Linked DNA regions of Homo sapiens: region 1 is linked to region 2. Evidence: promoter capture Hi-C in 16 types of primary human blood cells and fetal thymus (Javierre and others, 2016). All regions are on one chromosome and are shown on one strand. Each heading gives the region's core, a stretch centred on a gene start or on the middle of the fragment in contact. The rest is flanking DNA. Distances are from core to core; before and after follow the strand shown.

Region 1 (3,392 bases), core at 141-2,640, 1.9 Mb after region 2:
AACAGTATAAGGAAATCACTAGATGATTCCCTCCCAAATCACCTTTTTGTACATTTGTCTCTAGCTTCCAAGTTATATACATTGCACATGATAGTCCCACTTCAGTAAAATGGTAGTCTTTAGTGTATTTACTACTTATATTGTTTAGTTTGGTTGCTTCCTAAGACCTCCAAGGATTCTGATTCTATTCAATAAAGTTTCAAATTCACAAAGTATTTCTGATTGCTTCTTAAGTACTGGCATATGTAATCTCTAGTTTTTACTCAAAATGTCCTGTATCCAACCCTTTGTGTTTAGTATTACTTTTTTTTTTTTTTTGACACGGAGTCTCACTCTGTCACCCAGGCTGGAGTGCAGTGGCACAATCATAGCTCACTGCAACCTCCACCTCCCAGGTTCAAGCGATTCTCCTATCTCAGCCTCCCAAGTAGCTGGGGTGACAGGCACGCACCACCACGCCCAGCTAATGTTGTAGTTTTATAAGATAAAGTTTCACCATTTTGGCCAGGCTGGTCTCAAACTCCTGACTTCAGGTGATCCGCCTGCCTTGGCCTCCCAAAGTGCTGGCATTACAGTTGTGGGCCACCATGCCCAACCTAGCATTACTTTTCTTTTTTCCCTTCAAAGTTAAAAGTCCATTTAGTTTGGGGCCTTGTCTACTCTTTTTCTTGCTAGATGAATAGCAAAGGAACAGAAAAAGAACTTTAAAAACTAATAATTTTCAGATAATGACTTTTAAAGGAGAAAAATCGGCTGGGCACAGTGGCTCACGCCTGTAATCCCAGCAATTTGGGAGGCTGAGGCAGGTGGATCACAAGATCAGGAGTTCGAGACCAACCTGACCAACATGGTGAAACCCCGTCTCTACTAAAAATACAAAAAAATTAGCTGGGTGTAGTGATGCACGCCTGTAATCCCAGCTACTCAGGAGGCTGAGGCAGGAGAATTGCTTGACCCCAAGAGGCCGAGGTTGCAGTGAGCCGAGATCACGCCACTGCACTCCAGCCTGGGTGACAGAGCAAGACTCCCTCTGTCTCAAAAAAAAAACAAACAAAAAAACAAAACAAAAACAAAAGGAGGAAAATCGAGAGATATTAAAATTAAAGTTGGTAGTAAGAAATGGTTCTAACTGGATGGCAACTAAGCTGTGTGCAGGGATGCCAAAGAAATATGATTGATATTTTTCTTGGGGAGGAATAGTTGGGCAATAAATGGCTTAACCCTTCATTCAACTTGAACATTTTGTTCTAGTAGAAAGTGAAATAGTTTATTCATCAATCACAGAAAATATTATTTAAAAATCATGCAGGAATGGATAACCAATGTCTAGAAAGTAGGTCAATATAGGACTTCAGCACAATTTTTGAGGACAAAGTCCACAAAGTAGTAACACAATACCTGTAGGACTGACCTGATTCCCAATTGCGGCTTGTTTTTGTTACTTTCTCACTGCTGTTACTCAAAAATCTAAACAGCAAGTAGAAATTTGTACCAAGAAAAGCTGCACTTGGCAGGGAAAACATAATTCAAATTGGAGCAGGCTCCTGATAATACATATCAAAGGCCTTAAAGTTACACATATCCCTATGACAATTATCCTAGCCAATGACAGCAGTGACAGGCTCCAAGAATTTAGGTCAAAAACTCATGACAGTATCATTCTTACAAGTCAACTAATTTTACCATTAAAAAAAAAATCTCATTCTAACATCAAGAAAAATCTTGATGTCTCAGGAAATCGTCTCCCCTCACTCATCTGAAAAAAGCAGTATATCCCATCTTGGTAGCCGACTTTATTCACTCAACTTGATTATACACTATTTTAGGCAGGTGTGTTTGGTTTTTTGGTTTTGGGGGGTTTTTTGTGCAGATTTCTTTTGTGTGTGTATGGTCTTTTTACAAAGTTCAACTGCATCCATATGGGATGATTCACTAGTTGAGGATATTCAAGATATGCAAGTATTAGAAGCATTAATAATAGAAGAGCCTCTGAAGTGACTCATTTCAAGGAGGCTTTAGAAAGATGCGGTCACTTAATCTGGTAAAAAATCACGTTCTGGGAGGGATTTTCAGAAATTTCAGCATATAGAGAAGTGACAAGGATAATAAGCAGTACAACATACTTGAGCTTGGGTTTTGAAATCAGATATGGGCTTGAATTATCTGACCGAATTACTCTGTGTAAGTTTCTCCATCTGAAAAGTAGGCCAAATGAGAAGAGCTCCTTGTAAGAGGAATAAGAATATATAAGTGAACCATGGGATATCTGCACCATGCCGGGCACTTTGAATGTATCATCTCATCTAACTGCCATGCTCTATGAGACAGCTATTAGTCCTATTTCACAGACGAAGTAAGGTTAAAAGGTTAAATTCCCAGAGGTTACATGTCTAGTAAGAGACAGCCAAGATTCACTCTCAATAATAGAATTCTAAAATATGCATTTCTCTTAAACCAGGATTCTTTAAATGTTATTAACCAAGAGCATTTTTCTAGGTTTTTAAATAGGATTATCATAAATGTACACTAAACAACTTCCTCCACATCAAAAGTCACTATAAAACATTCTCAATAACCTTCATAGTAACTTGAAACAAGCCAATTTAGGAAATTACCAAACCACCTAATTGGATATATTATATAAATTTATTTGTTCGTTGTAATTTTTTGCTTTTCTGATAATCATTATCCCACAAAATACACATTCCAAGACTGAGGAAAGTGAGGTAACTAAAAGTGCTTTCACAATACATTCATGTTATTGTGTCCCGCAATCTATAAAGGCAACCCACTTACAGTATATGGATTTTAGCTTTGGTATCCAATTAAATATCCTCAAAAATGAATCATTTTTAAAGGTTATATGGTAAAATTAAAACATCTGATTATGTAATTATGTAATTCTAGCATAAAAAATTAAAGTATCTTTTTATTCCTAGAATACAAAATAGGAATAACTGCTACATACTTAAATTGTGCTTACGTTTGATTTTCCTATTCCAACACAACTGGCCCATGAAAGGTCTTTCTTTTCTCTCTATATTATCACCATTATTGCTCAATGGGCAGTATCTAAAAATAGAATCTAGAAAGCCAGAAACCACAAAAATAACATCTTGGGGCCAGTTTGAAGCAAAGTAAACAGAATATACAATGACAGACAAACAGGCAGAATCACCTAAGACGAAAACAAAATTCCACTTCATTTTAACGAATGTAGTTAAATTGAATAGGCTCATTATCAAGAGCTGAACACGGCTCTCTGTTCTTTCCGGTATTCTAAAAGATGCATAAACACAAAAACCATCCAGTTCTAGATTTGAAAATTGAAGGGAATCGCTTTTAATCTATTCTGGCTCAGGGGATTGCTGTAAAAAAAAAAATTAAATAAA
Region 2 (3,061 bases), core at 360-2,859:
ATGTTTCGTTTATTAATGTGGCTACTTAAAAACTTCAAATTTCTCATGTCCTCACATCAAGACTGGAAAAAAACTCTTAAATTACATCTGTGTCTTGCATTATATTTCTGTTGGACATCGCTGCTATAGACATGTTTTTAACAGCTGAAACAACTCTTGGCGTCTGAGAAATGTTTGTGTGTGTCTGGGTTGGAGGGGACGGCTGTACACAGCAACAGTTACCTAGTTACCTGCTGGTTGAGGTCAGCGCCCGTTTGCAGCTGCCAGAGAAGAAAGCAAGCAAGGCCGCTTCCTGCGGCTAAGTGGACAGGCGACTGCTTGCAGGGATCCGGGGGTGCGTTGACCGAGGCCCCTGTCTCCAGCAAATGCTTCAGACCATCCACCTGCAGGAAGAGAACAGATCCAGCACCCTTCCCACCTTTGTCCAGTCCCGCGCCCCTCCGGGCTGGAAACCTCCCCGCCCTTCACAACCAGCTCTGACCAGGCAGCGCCCAGTGGTCCGTCCCCGCATTAACGAGAAGACGAATCTAGAAGCTTGAGCCTGCAGGACAAAAGCTCGGGCTCTGTGAGCCCGAATCTCACCTCGGGGTTGCAATCCAGCAACAGCATTTCCCGCCTAAGGCAGATGACAAGAGTCCTTGGAAGTGCAGAGAGGTGAGACACTCGCCGCACCCCGACAGGTAAGAATGCGCAGGCTGGCCCTAGCACGGGAGAATTTAAAGACCGCTGGGACTTCCGGGCCGGCCCTTGGCAGCCGCGCCCCAGCTCCGGTTACGCCCGAGCAGCCTAATCCTCAACGACCCGGACCCTGTCCAGCCCCGCCACGGCCGCACGTACACAAACACTGGCACGTGGAGCCCGGCGCCGGGGGCAGGGGGAGGGGGCGGGCGCGCGAGGCCATCCGCCGATTGGCCAGCTGTGGATGCGTCAGGCCCTCCCACCTCGGGGCGGGGCCCGCGGCGGCCCCACGGAGCCTCAGCGCGCGTGCGCAGGGTAAGTCAGTGGGCGTGAGAGGACTGGAGTAGGAGCGGGTGGGGCTCCGCGGCCGCCATGAGGCGCGCTGAGTTTGACACGTCTCCCGGTAGTGCGCCCGCCCTTTAATCCTTACGGAGAAGCGGGAGTTTCGGCTGCAGGTTTTGGCTCTGCCGGCGCGCACGTAACCAGGAAACTGGGAGCCACGCGCAGCTCCCCGTCGACGCCGCCTTCAGAAGCCGCTGTGCACTGCGCTGCTGCCGCCTCGGCGCCGGGGAACGCAAGTTCCTTTACCTCGCGCGCAGTCGCCCGCCTCCCAACCCGGGAGGTGAAGGCGGGGACGGCGAGCGCGAACTCGAGGGGATGGCTGTCCCGAGTGGCAACGGCCGAGCCCGGCCCGCGCAGGGACCCTTGTGGAGGGGCCCTCGGGGAGAGGCCGCAGCACGCTGGGGTCGTCACGCTGGTCCACGCCGGGCTCTCCTCCCGGGAGAGCGGACCCGGCCGCGTGCGATTCGGACCCGCGGGGCTGGTGAAGCCGCTGTCCGGCCCCGCGGGTGCTGTCGGGCGTGCGTCACTGCTTTTTGTAGAACATGACCTGACTTCCGATGGCAGCTACTGACGTCAGAGCTGCTCCCTAGACTCTCCCTAAGCGTCTTTCCAGAAGGATCTGCTTAGAAACCAAAGCTCCAGCCGAGTGTTTCTTTTCCCCTACATTTTTAGTGATTCCCTTCTGTTGATGCCTTTGAAAGCTCGGAGAAATAAATACGTTTATTGTTATGCTGTTAGAAAACAAGTTCATGCTTGTCCTCTAAAGATAAGTGGTCTTTTCATTCTACTTTTTGTTTTGTAGTAAGAGCCATAAAATTTGCAATCGCAAGTTTATGTTGTTATACTTAGTTACCCAAGGGGTAGTTTTAAGCATTTTTATTCATATGAATATTTGAATATAAATGTGTGTTCAAATATATAGAATCGTTCTTATATTCCACATTTTTAATATTTAAACTATTCACAATATCTTTTAATGATGTTTAAAGAACGGCAGTGTAGAGATACTGTTGTCAGATTTGTGAGGTGAGCACACGTTGATATTGCCAGTTTCGCTTTTGTTTATCAATTCAATAAGCACTGCTTTTTAAAACACGTGTTGAAGCTTCAGGTTTGCACAGAAGTTCATTTTCAGGAATTCCTAACTAATAAAGGGTATCAGACACGTTCTTACAGTTTTGAACATAAATACTGCAGTTAGCATATGTAGTGGGATATTTGTGTGGTGAAAGTGCCTCCATATTTCATATCTTTTCTTTGAAACAAGATTCTGTTCAGTATGCATTAAGTGGTAGTTATTTTTTAACTTCCTGTTACATACGTAAATTTCATAAGGAAAGGAAATTTGGGGAGTCGTTACAGCTTTTCTCCCTTTAATCACAGCGTACCTGTCCATTGCTCACATTGTTTTCAGAAAAAAAAGTTGTATCTCAGCTGGATATCTGACTTGACTTTAGTAATGGGCCTAGAAACTATAAACTGAACAAAGCTTATAATGCACAAAAACAGGATAAGTACATTTGGGGGACAATATCTTACTGGCAAGTAACTGGAGTTTCACCAGGCGTGTAGCAGGTGGGATCAATTTTCTAAAACGGAAGATGATCTAAGATGCATATTTTATAGGCGTTCTCCTAAGCAGTGCTAATTCTACATGTTTTAATTGCTGGTAGATGCGTTTCCAGAACGAGGATGCCATTTACAGCGAGTGTTAAAAAAAACGTTGGATGATGAGTAAGTGACCGAATAGATGAGAGATGTGTGGGCTGAATCTTGAGTAGTAAGAGTTTGCTAAGGAGTCCAGGAAGGGAAGAGTATTTCTAAGAAGTGTAAAATATCTTCCAGTATTGAGAGCACTATATGTAGTTCAGTCTGGGGGCAGTGTGTGATACACATGCAGCTGTGATGTGAAATAGAGAAAGGCCGACAAATGAGAAAGTATTAACCACTAACGTCTATTCCAGTTTATTATATTACAAATTGACATTAATTGAGCACTTGTGCCTCAAGACTAACGCTCATAGGTATTATCTGCATTTTA

The links. The method cuts DNA at HindIII sites, captures the fragments that hold promoters and counts their contacts. A CHiCAGO score of 5 or more calls a contact.
Region 1: a fragment that was not itself captured here is called in contact with the fragment with the promoter of LRP2BP in region 2 in 2 of 17 cell types (fetal thymus and naive CD4 T cells); the score reaches 9.7 in fetal thymus.

The regions. Positions count from the first base shown.
Region 1 is chr4:183,448,300-183,451,691 of GRCh38, reverse strand. CDKN2AIP (CDKN2A interacting protein) reads right to left here. Exons shown (of 3, transcript NM_017632.4): 3 at 2,628-3,392. Among named protein-coding and RNA genes, the nearest start is that of CDKN2AIP, 5.4 kb to the right of the region's middle. The HindIII fragment of the contact is 4,907 bases long and covers 1-3,392 here.
Region 2 is chr4:185,394,472-185,397,532 of GRCh38, reverse strand. LRP2BP (LRP2 binding protein) reads left to right here and starts at 1,609. Exons shown (of 9, transcript NM_001377440.1): 1 at 1,609-2,754. It overlaps ANKRD37 (ankyrin repeat domain 37), which reads right to left and starts at 692. Exons shown (of 5, transcript NM_181726.4): 1 at 583-692; 2 at 231-383. The coding sequence starts at 609. RefSeq lists silencers at 707-1,076, 1,297-1,486 and an enhancer at 1,107-1,176. The HindIII fragment of the contact is 1,591 bases long and covers 537-2,127 here.